2 separate regions of the Homo sapiens genome follow, and region 1 is linked to region 2. The links are contacts of gene promoters, found by promoter capture Hi-C in blood cells and fetal thymus (Javierre and others, 2016). All regions are on one chromosome and are shown on one strand. Each heading gives the region's core, a stretch centred on a gene start or on the middle of the fragment in contact. The rest is flanking DNA. Distances are from core to core; before and after follow the strand shown.

Region 1 (7,411 bases), core at 475-2,974, 92 kb before region 2:
GCGGAGGTTGCGGTGGGCCGGGATCGCACCACAGCACTCCAGCCTGGGCAACAAGAGTGAAGACCTGTCTCAAAAAAAAAAAAAAAATAGTACCTACACCTCATAAATTGTTAAAAATACTAAATACAGGCTGGGCGGGTTGCTCACGCCTGTAATCCTAACAATTTGATCCGCTGAGACGGGAGAATCACCTGAGCTCAGGAGTTCCAGACCAGCCTGAGCAACATGGTGAAACCCCTAATTTATCAATCTAAAAAAATAAGAAGGAAAGAAAAAAAGCTAAATACACACCATGGCACTTGACCCATAGCAACTGTTGAAAAACCACAATGGCACGGTTACTAAATAAGCGAGGCATAGCCTTCTCCGGCTTAGGGGTAAAAATGCCCAGTTCCGGTTTTGAGGCAAATGAGGAGATACTAGGGATGAGCTGTCAGAGTCGACTCTTCAGCCATCAACGCCTCGCGGTGCTTCCTGCCTGCCCTTCCTCAGATGCTCCCCTTGCCCTATCAATACGTCCACCCCAGGTAGGTCGGACACCCTACGAACATTCCGCGTTCCCCGGGAGCAAATGATGCTAGGAAAACAGGGTGCGGGCTCTTATTTGGCCGGAGTGGAGTGACCAGGTCAGCGCCGCAGCTGCTAACCACCACCAACCACAGTTTTGAAAGTTCCTGGGCTTTTTCCGGCCTGAGGGCCGACGCTGTTTGCAAAATCACAAGCACTCCTTAGAGCGGGGTTAGGAATCTAGAGTTTCCAAATCCCTGGAACCTTTAGCATCTCGCCAAGCCTCCCTCATCAAAGGAGGGAAGTGAAATCAGAGCCCCACTCCGGCTGTTTTAGAAGTTTTCCCGAATCCGTGATCCCTTTACAAAGCCCGGGCCCTGGCCTGCGGGGCGGGGCGCGCGAACGGCGAGCTATTCCACCAGAGATCCCTCCACGACCTCCAGCGGCATCCGCGACCCTGCAGCTTGCTCTCCAGCCACGGCGAGCACGGGCCGGGGGAGAGGCGAGCGGGAAGGGCGAACGGCGACCCCCGCGCTGCCCCGCGGCCGCTTCCCCCTACGGTGCTGCCCCAGGCAGGAGGCGGACAAGGCTCATTTGGACCCCCCGAGGCCGGTGCAGGCGGGCTTGGGCCCTCCAAAGGCTCAGCTTTTGGGTTTCTAAGTAAAATATTGGAATAATAAAAATAAAGGAAGTGACGACGGCGCGAAGGACGGCCCGGGCCTGCGAGGAGAGGCTGCCTCATCCTCCACCCGTGAGGGGGCGCCGTGAGGGGTCTGCGCGGAGGCGGGGGGAGGGGAGGCCGGGGGGAGGGGAGCCCTGGGGGAGGGGACAGCAGGGAAGGCGGGGGCCTCAGGCACCGAGGAGGAGAGGGCAGGGGCGCGGGGGCCTCACCGGGGGTCCTCGAAGCGCACGAAGGCGAAGGGCACGAGGCCGTGCCGGTTCTTGAGCTCGATCTCGCGGATGCGGCCGTACTTGTAGAACAGGTCCTCCAAGTCCTTCTCGCGCACGTCGGTCGGAAGGTTCCCCACGTAGATGCGCCCGTCGCCCTCGCCGCCGCGCTCGTCCGCCCAGCCCGACATCCGCACCGCCCGACGCCGCGGGCCCGCCGCAGCCCACGTCGCCGCCGCCGCCTCAGCACGGGTCCCCCCGCAGCGTCCCCGCGGGCTCCGAGGCGCTCAGCCGCACTGCATTGTGGGAACGCGGAGCGGAAGCGAAGGGGTCGGCGGAGGCAAAAGGAGTCCTCTTAAAGAGAACGCGGCTGCGACCATTGCGCGTGCGCGCAGGCCGGCGCCCCCTGGAGGTGCGAAGGGCCTTCGGGCGCTGACAGGGAGAGCCTGGGGCCGGGCCGTGTGGATGCCATCCCCGAGCGCGGTTCGCGCTCGGCTGAGGCGCTGGACAAGTGGCTTGGGCTCCCGCGCCTCAGTTTCTCTCTGTGGCGCCGCCTACCTCACAGACTTGTGAGCACTCACTGACGTGGGTAGCGCCCAGGGCCTGCGGGGCGCAGGAGAGCTGGAGTCAGGCGGAGACCGCAGGCTGACCCCGCAGCGGCCGGGCTGTCGCGGCCCCCACCTCAGGTCAGTAGGCCCCCGGGCCACCCTGTCCCCATTTTACAGTTGCTCAGAACTGACGGTGTCAGCATGAGATGGACTCCATAGCTTGGCCTTGAGTTTGTCGGAGTCGAGGGAGTAAGACTCTTAATGAGTATCACAGCGATCACTATAGAGTGCATCCGACTTGTGCTTTTCATCCTCTCCCGGGCAGAGTCTGAGGCCACAGAGGGGTCAGGAATGGAACCCAGAGCCATGCTCCCATCCTAAGTACTGAGTCCTTATGGAGCTCAGGTAGACACCCACCTTGGCACTTACTTTTCCACATTCACATCCCAGAACGCGGAGCATTGAACCCAGGGACCTTACAGTGAGGCCTTGCACCAGAAGACTTTTTGTTTGTTTTTGATACAGGGTCTTATTCTGTTGCTCAGGCTGGAGTGCAATGGCGCGAACACGGCTCACTGCAGTCTCGATCTCGCTGGACTCAGGTGATCCTCCCACCTCGGGGCGCCGTGAGGGGTCTGCGCTGCGTCCAGCTAGTTTATTTTCTATTTTTTTTGTAGAGAGGCTGGTCTCGAACTCCTGGGCTCAACCGATCCTCCAGCCTTGGCCTCCCAAAGTGTTGGATTACCGGCTTGAGCCCGGCGCCCGGCTGGAATACTCCTAACCTAAAGATTGTTCAGGCTGGGTGCGGTGGCTCACGCCTGTAATCCCAACACTTTGAGAGGCCAAGGCGGGAGGATCACTTGAGGTCAGTAGTTCGAGACTAGCCTGGGCAACATGGGGAAACCCCGTTTCTACTAAAAATACAAAAATTAGCTGGGCGTGGTGGCGTGTTCCTATAATCCCAGTTACGCGGGAGGCTGAGGCAGGAGAATTGCTTGAGCCCGGGAGGCGAAGGTTGCAGTGAGCCGAGATCATGCCACTGCACTTCAGCCTGGGTGACAGAGTGAGACTGTCTCAAAAATAAATAAAGATTTTTCATATTAAAAATGAAACCTGGCTGGGCGTGGTGGCTCATGCCTGTAATCCCAGCACTTTAGGAGGCTGAGGTGGGTGGATCACTTGAGGCCAGGAGTTCAAGACCAGCCTGGCCAACATGGCAAGACCCGCCCCCCTACTAAAAATACAAAAAAAAAAAAAAATTAGCCAAGCTTGGTGGCACGCCTGTAGTCCCAGCTGCTTGGGAGGATGAGGCACGAGAATCGCTTGAATCTGGGAGGCAGAGGTTGCAGTGAGCCGAGATTGTGCCACTGCACTCCTCCAGCCTGGGTGACAGAGGGAGACTCTGTCTCAAAAACAAGACAAAACAAAAACAAACAAAAAAAGGGACTAAAACCACACATTTAATCAGAAGGTAGTTGATTTCTCATTATACCATCTGAGCATTTTAAAATCAAAACAAACCAAAGACTAGACACCCACATATACTACTGAGTGTATATCTTTTTTGGAATACAAGTTGATAGTATACATCAGGCTTTCATAATATACATATACCCTTCGATCTTGTAATTCTGCTTGTAGGATTTTTTGTTTGTTTGTTTTGAGACGGAGTCTTACACTGTCACCCAGGCTGCAGTGCAGTGGCGTGATCTCGGCTCACTGCAAGCTCCGCCTCCCAGGTTCATGCCATTCTCCCGCCTCAGCCTCCTGAGTAGCTGGGACTACAGGTGCCTGCCACCACGCCCGGCTGATTTTTTTATATTTTTAGTAGAGACAGGGTTTCACCGTGTTAGCCAGGATGATCTCAATCTCCTGACCTCGTGATCCGCCTGCCTCAGCCTCCCAAAGTGCTGGGAATACAGGCGTGAGCCACCGCGCCCAGCTGCTTGTAGGATTTTTATCAGACGGAAATAAGCAAGAGATTCTCATAATAAATTACATGTGTATATTTATCATTGCATTCTGTGCAATTAAAAAAATTAAACTTGATAATAAGGGAGTGGCTCAACACATTAACTTTGAATGTTACACAATTATTAAGTCATGTTTTTAATATGACAGAGATATTAAAGTCACAGTAATTTACAGTTAAAGTGAATTGAAAGTGGTGTTTAATGTATACACATATATAGTGTATTTGCTGCTTGTAACAAAAAAAAAATAGAAAAAGCTTTCCAAATGTTGTGGTTGTGGAGATATCTCTTGATGGCAGTGATTTCTATGTTTTTATTTATGCTTTTCTGTATTTCTCAAATTGTAATTAGCATGCACTACTTTTATAATTGGAATAAAACATAATAAATGATTCCTAAAATAAAACCATTATAACTATCTGTTGTATTCTGGATTATGTAAAGCATCTAGCTGTTCTCTAGACAAGCAGGAAAGAGCCCTGGCCAAATATGATCTCGAGTCTAAGTGTGCAGCCTTATAGGAGCTTACATATCCTATAGGCATCCGAAAGTCCAGATGCCTTCTCATTTTGGGTGGTGTGCTTAGGTGTATTAATACCATTCTCTGAGTCCTACCACTCCTATGTGATTGTTGCCTGGAAAGACAAAAAAGGAAAAAAAAGTGCTGTTGGAGACAATTGGGCAGTCTCCTAGGGAGAGAGAAATAGAGTCAGCTAAGTGACTCAATAGGACTGTAGGTGGAAAACTGCTTGCAAATAATAATAATTCAGCTTTAATTGTGCAATGTCCTGCAGCATACAATCTCCAAAGGAGTTCAGTTACCCAGCAGAAAATGTAGGGATGTGGTTAGTACAGGCTTCTTGGATTAGATAGAGCACAGCTAAATCCTTAGGAGGCATTTATGATCATCCATGAAACCCCCTTTATTCCTGTACTGACCTTTGCAGTTAGAACACAAATGAGACCACAATTATGACTTCATGTTCAAAGGGTTCATAGGTTCCATTCTCTGCTAAGGCCAGAGACTCTAGGCAGGGACACCTTTTAAACTTTTTGTTCATCTAGATATTCAACATTATTTATGATTTAGGTCCTGTATGAGGCCCAGGGCATGCAATAATACAGCTCTGTCCTTGAGTTGTGTATATAGGTTGCTATTCGGTCATGTAGAGTACAGTTGTGATAAGGATAAGCTGCTTGAGACTACATCGGAGGGTCACCTACCACAGTCTTAGAGATTCTAAGGAAGGCTTCTGGGAGGAGATGTTTAGAGTCTTGAAGAACCAGTAGGAGTTAACCAGGGGGAAGAGGGAAGGGCATTTCAGACAAAAATGAGGGCATGACTGCTGAGTGCAGTGGCAGTAATCCCAGCACTTTGGGAGGCTGAGGCAGGAGGATGGCTTGAGTCCAGGAGTTTGAGACCAGGCTAGGCAATGTAGTGAGACCCCTATCTCTACAAAAAACTTAAAAATTGCCAGGCCCAGTGGCTCATGCCTGTAATCCCAGCACTTTGGGGAGGTCAAGGTGGGTGGATCACTTGAAGTCAGGAGTTCGAGACCAGCCTGGTCAACATGGCAAAACCTCATCTTTACTAAAAACACAAAAATTAGTCGGAGGTGGTGGCGCACACCTGTAATCCCAGCTACTTTGGAGGCTGAGGCAGGAGAATTGCTTGAACCCGGGAGGCAGAGGTTGCAGTGAGCCGAGATTGCGCCACTGAACTCCAGCCTGGTCAACACCGAGACTCTGTCTCAAAAAAAAAAAAAAAAAAAAATTAAAAAATTATCTAGGCATGGTAACGTGCACCTGTGGTCTCAGCTACTTGATCTCGAACTCTTGAGCTCAAGTGATCCGCCCATCTCGGCCTCCCAAAGTGCTGGGATTACAGGCATTAGCCACGGCACCTGACAGTCCCAGCTACTTAAGAGGCTGAGGTGGGAGGACTGCTTGAGCCTGGGAGGTTGAAGCTGTAGTTAGCCATGATTGCACCACTGCACTCCAGCCTGGGCAACAGAGTGAGACTCTGTCTCAAAACATAAAAAAGGACACCATGAGAAATCACCCAAATAGGAGAGAGAGTAGCAGACCAGGGAAAATCCCTACTGGTGTGACTGGGGCAAGGAGTTCAAGCAGGGAAGAAGAGAGAAGGAGCTGAGGCACCACCAGCCTGGGCAACATGTTAAAACCCCGTCTCTACAAAAAATACAAAAATTAGCTGGGCATGGTGGCACACACCCATAGTCCCAGCTACTTGGGAGGCTGAGGGGGGAGAATCACTTAAGCCCAGGAGGCAGAGGTTGCAGTGAGCCAATATTGCACCGCTGCACTCCAGCCTGGGCGACAGAGTGAGATCCTGTTACAGAAATGGGCTTGTCCTTCTTTTCACCAAACTGAAAAGAAGCCTTTGATGTTGGCAGACTATTAAGAATTAATGCAGTTCCCACAGCAAGCCATTTATTCTCCACCAGAGTGTAGGGCAGTGCCCAACTGAAAAAAACAACATAAAAAAAAAAAAAAATCCCAAAACCAACAACAGCTCGGGTGATGAGTGCATGAAAATCTCAGAAATCACCACTAAATAACTTAAAGAACTTATCCATATAACCAAACACCACCTGTTCCCCAAAAACCTATTGAAATAAAAATTTAAAACAAACAAAAAACCAACAACGCCAGGCATAAAACATGCTGCAAACCTGCCCATCTGGTTTTCTCCTTTTCTCTGTGACATCAGTCCCCTCTGGCATCCCAGCAAAATATTTTCCTCTCTGTCAGGCTCAGTCATGAGCTCCTCCCAGACCTTGGCCCTAGGTATCAGTGGGCAGAGAGGAAGTGATGGGGGAGTAGACCATCTGAGAAGATGAGGAACTGGTCCCGCCTGGCAGGAGAGCTATGGAATGAGTCACTGGGAAACGTGTTCCTGGTCACAGCACCCTGGGAGCTTTCTCTGTCATTCTCTACCACTGTACTTGTGTGATGGAGTAAAATAAAACATATTCTGGAAAGCTACATAATAAAGAACTGAGCCATGCAGGGGAGGAAGAAGAGAAACAGCAGCAGAACTAGGAGGTTTGGAAGAGAGTTTGGAATTGGGGGTGAGCTTTAGGAAAGCAAGTGTCAAGTGTGGGAGGATGAGAAGAGAAAAATGGGAAAGATAATTCAAGATTTGCAGTATATTGTGAATATAATTCCCCTCTGGTGTTTTTTTCAGAGACTGCAAAAAATCTTTAACATTATTTTTCAATAACTTTTAGATAATGAACTGGTGTTTTCTTTGAATATGCCCAAACAGGTGGGAACACAAGGGCTTGATTTTATATGAAGTTACTTCAAGTGAACATACTGTATTTGTAGCAGCTCGGTTGCTTTATTTTTACTAACTTGTTAAATTCTGTGATGGAGTCTTCAAACAGCTTTTTATATCAGGGCTTCCTTTTCTTGGATTAATGGGCTTCTGGGATCAGTGAACTCCTGCCTCCCTGCCCCCTCAACCTC
Region 2 (6,933 bases), core at 1,660-4,159:
TCTCACTTTGTCGCCTGGGCTGGAGTGCAGTGGCAATAATTACTTTTAATTAATTAAATTCATTAAAATAATTAAAATTAATTTAATTAATTAAATTAACTTTTAATTTTAAATTATTTTTTTTATTTTAAAAAATTAACTGGGCATGCAGGTATAGTTAATTTTTTATTTTTATTTTTAGCAGAGATGAGGTCTTGCTATGTTGATAGGCTGGTCTTGAACTACTCTTTTTTTTTTTTTTTTTTTTTTTGAGACGGAGTCTTGCTGTGTTTCCCAGGCTGGAGTGCAATGGTGTGATCTCGGCTCACTGCAACCTCCACCTCCTCGGTTCAAACGATTTTCCTTCCTCAGCTTCCTGAGTAGCTGGCATTTCAGGCACCTGCCACCACGCCCGGCTAATTTTTGTTTTTTTTGTGTGTGTGTGTTGTGCTTTTTTTGTTTTTGTTTTTGTTTTGAGATGGAGTCTCACTCTGTTGCCAGGCTGGAATGCAGTGGTGCAATCCCGGCTCACTGCAATCTCCGCCTCCCAGGTTCAAGAGATTCTCCTGCCTCAGCGTCCTGAGTAGCTGAGATTACAGGCACGCACCACCACACCTGGCTAGTTTTTGTATTTTTAGTAGAGACGGGGTTTCACCATGTTGGCCAGCATGGTCTCAATCTCTTGATCTTGTGATCCGCCTACCTCAGCCTCCCAAAGTGCTGGGATTACAGGTGTGAGCCACCGTACTCCGCCTGGTGTTATTTTTTTTTAATTTTATTTTTTGAGGCAGAGTTTTGCACTTGTTGCCCAGGCTGGAGTGCAATGGTGCGATCTTGGCTCACTGAAACCTCTGCCTCCTGGGTTCAAGCGATTTTCTTACTCCAGCCTCCCTAGTAGCTGGGATTATAGGCGCCCGTCACCACGCCCAGCTAATTTTTTGTATTTTTAATAGAAACAGGGTATCTCTATGTTGGCCAGGCTGGTTTCGAACTCCTAACTTCAGGTGATCCACCTGCCTCAGCCTCCCAAAGTGCTGAACGTGAGCCACCACACCCAGCTGGCTTGGTCTTAAACTTCTAAACTCAAGCAATCTTCCTGTCTTGGCCTCTCAAAGTACTGGGATTATAGGTGTGAGCCACTGCGCTGGTCCACCATTTCTTTATTCTTTATTGTTGGTTTTACTGGTTGGTTTGAGCTTTTCTTTTTCTGTGTGTGGTTTTTTTTGTTTTTTTTTTTTTTGAGACAGAGTTTCGCTTTTGTTGCCCAAGCTGGAATGCAGTGGCATGATCTTGGCTCACTGCGACCTCTGCCTCCTGGGTTCAAGCGATTCTCCTGCCTCAGCCTCCCAAGTAGCTGGGATTACAGGCATGCCCTACCAGGCCCGACTAACTTTTTTGTATCTTTAGTAGAGACGGGGTTTCACCATGTTGGTCAGGCTGGTCTCGAACTCTTGATCTCAAGTGATCCACCCGCCTTGACCTCCCAAAGTGCTGGGATTACAGGTGTGAGCCATGGTGCCTGGCTGGTTTGAGCTTTTCTGATATTACATACAATGCTGTAACAATAAACGCGTGACTAAAGTTTTGACTACATCTCTGGGTTTCTTAGATTTCTTATATCAAGAGCAGAGCTACAGACCTTATTTTAAGACCATTGTTAAATTATTTTCTAGGAAATCATGCTAAATTACCCCATTTTCACCCCAGAGAAAAGGCTGTATTTGAAAATTCCTATTTAGCTACACCATCGTGAGCTTTGAATGTTGCATTTCTTTGATCTTGCTGGCATTCTTATAGATGAACAGCACAGCCAGTACTCCAAGTTGCTGCTGGCCTCTAAGGAGCAGGTGCTGCACCGGGTAGTTCTGGAGGAGAAAGTAGCACTAGAGCAGCAGCTGGCAGAGGAGAAGCACACTCCCGAGTCCTGCTTTATTGAGGCAGCTATCCAGGAGCTCAAGGTGAGAGGATGCATTGGAGATGCTAAACCTTTTCACTTTCTCGGCGTTCTGTGGTGAAAACCAGAAATGCTAAACCTTTTCACTCTGTCGGGGGTGAGATGATGGACGCTGGGGATTAAGTTAGTTCCATTCCACATTTAAGACAATAAGCAGAGAATGGCTAAAAAAGCCAATTTGTTTTGGGCTTTGTTTGATGACAGTAGAGAAGGTTTAACCTAGGGCTTTTAAAGCTCTTTCTAGAGCTGAAAGGAGCAAGTCAAAATGATTTTATAACTAATTGTGACAGTGGAGTTTTTTAGATTAGCTATGTTCTTAAAGCAAGTTAGAGTTCTTTGTTTTCTGGGAAAATACTTAAGATTCTATTCTAGAGGTGTTTTGAAAGACATTGTGGAGAAAGTATTATGGCCTGCCCAGTATGCCTTAGGAGTACCTGAAACGGCAAGAATTACACAAGAACAGAATTCCCTGGGTCTTTTATCTTCCACAACAGAGATTCTTGAAGCATCACAACCACTGGTTGTTAGGTCCCACTTTGAGATATTGATTGCATAGGTTAAGCTCAGTAGGCTCAGTAATTTGCATATAACAAGTTCTAGGGTGATTCTGATGGCTGCTCATCCCCAGACCACACTCCTGGAACCACTGATCTAGCTTAGAGCAATAGAAGCCCATATTTATTGAGTGATCAGCATTTGATAGGACTTGTGCTATACACATTTATCTCACTTAAGCTTCTAGTGTGGTAGATAGAACTATCCCCTTTCATGGATGAGGAAACTGAATCCTGGGTTGGGTAATTTGCTAGTAAGGGATGCAGCTGGTATTTGAATTCCCTTCTCCCTGACTCCCAAGGGCTCCTTGGGTAGAGTCCTGTGTATTTAACTTTTGCTTTCTTTCTATAATACGTTGCAGCCGTATTTGTTCAAATGCCATTACAGGCATAAGAAAGGCTACATAGAATTAGAGCTGTCCAGGCTGAGGTGGAGTTAGCTAAATCCTTCCTACTACTCTGGACCTCTGTCTGAGCATAGTTTGTAAAAACTAGGTTAGTTTCATGTTCTTAGATTTCTGTTCTGGAAGTTTTTTGTATAGTGTTGTTTGTGTCAGATTCTCTTTTATTTTTTTTAACTTTTAAGTTCAGGGGTACAAATGCAGGTTGTTACATGGTAAACCTGTGTCATGGGGGTTTGTTATACAGATTTTCACCCAGGTATTAAGCTTAGTACCCATTGGTTATTTTTCCTGATCCCCTCCCTCCTCCCACTCTCCACCCTCTGATAGGCCTCAGTGTGTGTTCCCCTCTATGTGTCCATGTTTCATCATTTAGCTCCCACTTAGAAGTGAGAACATGTGTGCGATATTTGGTTTTTCTTTTTCTTTCTTTCTTTTTTTTTTTTTTTTTTTTGAGACAGAGTTTTGCTCTCGTTGCCCAGGCTGGAGTGCAGTGGCGTGATCTCGGCTCATCACAACCTCTGCCTCCAAGGTTCAAGTGATTCTCCTGCCTCAGCCTCCTGAGTAGCAGGAATTACAGGCATGCCCCACCATGCCTGGGTTATTTTGTATTTTTAGTAGAGATGGGGTTTCTCCATGTTGGTCAGGGTGGTCTTGAACTTCCAACCTCAGGTGATCCGCCCACCTCAGTCTCCCAAAGTGCTGGGATTACAGGCATGAGCCACCACACCTGGCCGTATGTGTCTTTACAGTAGAATGATTTATATTCCTTTGGCTATATACCCAGTAATGGGATTGCTGGGTGAAATTTTATTTCTGTCTTTAGGTCTTTGAGGAATCACCACACTGTCTTCCACAATGATTGAACTAATTTACACTCCCCAGTGTCAGATTCTAAGCAGATTCCAATCCTTAGTGGGTATTGCATGCTTTTTGCTTCCTGTTTCCCTCAAAGTTGAGATATTTAAGCACCTAATTCCTTCCCATTGGGTCTCATTGCCTTTTAACTTTTGGTCCTGTTGAGAGGCCATTCTAAGCCCTTGCCCTTCAAGCTAAGTGTGTGTCTGGAAACTTAACCTTCTCTGGTGTTCTCTCTGGCCACGTTAGACTCGGGAAGAGGCTCTGTCGGGATTGGCCGGAAGCAGAAGGGAGGTCACTGGTGTTGTGGCTGCTCTGGAACAACTGGTGCTGATGGCTCCCTTGGCGAAGGAGTCTGTTTTTCAACCCAGGAAGGTTAGTGTGTTCCTGTTACTAAGTGGCTGCCGTTCCTCAAATGCTGTCATTGAGCTGGTAGGCATTACTGTGAGATCTAAACCTTCTCAAGAGAAGAGGGGACAATGAGTATTTTCTGTATGCTTGTTATTAGTTCTTTCCCCAGGGGTGTTAAATCAGTGAACACGACAGCTAAGATAAACATCTAGGGAGCTTGGCTCTTAGGTCTGCATTTGCCACATTGCTTTCGGAAAGCAGGAGATATCCTTTCTGTTGACTTAGAGTTTGCTGCAACAGGGTGTGCTGGAGTATCTGTCTGCCTTCGATGAAGAAACCACGGAAGTTTGTTCTCTGGACACTCCTTCTAGACCTCTTGCTCTCCCTCTGGTAGAAGAGGAGGAAGCAGTGTCTGAACCAGAGCCTGAGGGGTTGCCAGAGGCCTGTGATGACTTGGAGTTAGCAGATGACAATCTTAAAGAGGGGACCATTTGCACTGAGTCCAGCCAGCAGGAACCCATCACCAAGTCAGGCTTCACACGCCTCAGCAGCTCTCCTTGTTACTACTTTTACCAAGGTGAGGGTGCCGGAAGAGAGGGCTGGGTTGCCGCAGAGGTGTTTCAGAGGTGACCCGGTGCTCTAAGCAGAGGAGCGCCACTAGATCCTGTGGCTTGGGTGGCTTGAGCCCTTGGGCATGGGGAGGGGTGGGGAGCCTCCTGGGGACTGGCCAAGACTGGTGTGTGATAGAGCCCCTTGTCCTCAGCGGAAGATGGACAGCATATGTTCCTGCACCCTGTGAATGTGCGCTGCCTCGTGCGGGAGTACGGCAGCCTGGAGAGGAGCCCCGAGAAGATCTCAGCAACTGTGGTGGAGATTGCTGGCTACTCCATGTCTGAGGTGAGGCCTTCCTGTAGAAATGGAGGGTCAGGCAGCAGTATTAACCTAATCTCTTTGAGGTAGGCCTAGCCATCCTAAGTTCACAAACCTTCAAGGCCTTTAGTTTTTGTATTTTTAGTCTTTCTGTCAGTGATGGTGCTGTGAATTCTTTGTAAGTGAAGTGTCCCCTCAGCATGCCAGGGTTCTGTTAAATCAGTTAATGCTGTTCCCTGCTTCTCTGGTTCATTGATTGTAGTTTGGGGATATAGATATTTCTTTTATTTAAGATGGAGTTTATTTTTGTTTCTTATCCTCCTTATTGCTTGGGAGAAATGTCACAAATTTGTTGTAAGATTTAAAATTAGACTCTTTGAGTACTATAAATTTTTCATCAAACATATGCAGAAAAAGAATAGAAATGAAAATAAATGGGCTGGATGTGGTAGCTCACACCTGTAATCCCAGCACTTTTGGGAGGCCTACTCAGGCAGATTGCTTGAGGCTAGGAGTTTCAGACCAGCCAGGGCATTTCTACAAAAAATACAAAAAAAAATTAGCTGGGTATGATGATGTGCACCTGTTGTCCCAGCTCCTCAGGAGGCTGAGGCAGAAGGATCACCTGAGCTGGGGAGATCAAGTCTGCAGTGAGCTGGCCTGGGCGGCAGAGCAAGACCATGTCTCAGAAAAAAAAAATTGGGCTTCATTTTCTACTATTTCAGGCCAAGTGTCTTTCAATAGGGAGATCTGCTTTATCTTCCTTCCCAGTTATTTATTCTGTCAGTGGTTCCCAGGTTTTTTTCTGTTCTGTTTTTCTGCCAACAAATAACTTTATCTTCTCTGTTCGTCCCCCTCAGCTGTGGGGCCTTGAAAAAATCAGAAACAGCTGATGGGCTTTAGATTATTTGTTGCTGGACTCAGTTCACTCCTTTGCAGTACAAACCAAAAATAACTGGATTTGGTTGCTTATTCCACCTTGCTGTAGGTTGACAGTTTCTCTTTGGCTTTTCAAAATGAGGATAATTGAGCACTACTGTTTCCAGCCCCAGTGCTGGCTGTGTTATGTATATATTGTTGGATATCGGGGTTAGGACCCCCTGCTTTCAGAGTTAGGCTTGCTTTTGTTGAGTATTGGTCCTTTTTCCAATGTAGGATGTTCGACAGCGTCACAGATATCTCTCTCACTTGCCACTCACCTGTGAGTTCAGCATCTGTGAACTGGCTTTGCAACCTCCTGTGGTCTCTAAGGAAACCCTAGAGATGTTCTCAGGTGAGAATGCCCCTGCTCTGCTTCTCTTTATAGTAGGGTTCAGGGATTCTTGTGGCTAGACACCCAGTGGGGGAGGAAACTTATGGAACTGTATCATGAGTCTTAGTACCTCCTAAACACTTCATCTGTTCATCTAGTCCAGCTGGGCCTACTGTTGTGGGTTTAGCTGCTAATACTGGGAGGAGGTAATGACCATGTTGTCCTGGGTCTACCTCTTTACAACCTGACCAATCTGCAGATGACATTGAGAAGAGGAAACGTCAGCGCCAAAAGAAGGCTCGGGAGGAACGCCGCCGAGAGCGCAGGATTGAGATAGAGGAGAACAAGAAACAGGGCAAGTGTAAGTTCAGGAACTTTCATCTTTGACTAGCACTGCTGTACGTCGTTGTATAGAACTCTGTGTCTGGGACCTGGGAGCCAGACCTTAGCCACTTGTTTTCTTCAACTTTTAAATGTGAATCATGAGAGCACCTCCTTAATAGGCTTGCTTGCAAATATAATGAGTTAATATGGGTCAAAGTGCCTAGCACATAGTAAGGATTAAGAGGAAATTCAGCCTTGGTAATAGTGGGTGATATACACCTGTTCCAGAGATGGGAATTGGGGCTTCGCTAAGAATGCTGGGGGCCATCGTTCCCCATGCTCTCTGGATCACTGACCTTACCTCTGACTCTTTATTAAAGGGACCAGCTA

The links. Contacts are between HindIII fragments. The CHiCAGO score rates a contact against its expected background, and 5 or more counts as called.
Region 1: a contact is called between the fragment with the promoter of SRSF9 here and a fragment that was not itself captured in region 2, in 3 of 17 cell types (M2 macrophages, erythroblasts and M1 macrophages). The highest score is 7.4, in M2 macrophages.

The regions. Positions count from the first base shown.
Region 1 is chr12:120,468,024-120,475,434 of GRCh38, forward strand. SRSF9 (serine and arginine rich splicing factor 9) reads right to left here and starts at 1,725. Exons shown (of 4, transcript NM_003769.3): 1 at 1,399-1,725. The coding sequence starts at 1,586. It also overlaps a transcript of DYNLL1 not described here. RefSeq lists silencers at 964-1,133, 1,384-1,683. The HindIII fragment of the contact is 9,777 bases long and covers 1-3,209 here.
Region 2 is chr12:120,558,950-120,565,882 of GRCh38, forward strand. RNF10 (ring finger protein 10) reads left to right here. Exons shown (of 17, transcript NM_014868.5): 7 at 1,777-1,937; 8 at 3,996-4,121; 9 at 4,398-4,674; 10 at 4,861-4,994; 11 at 6,123-6,240; 12 at 6,479-6,580. Among named protein-coding and RNA genes, the nearest start is that of POP5, 19 kb to the right of the region's middle. The HindIII fragment of the contact is 487 bases long and covers 2,667-3,153 here.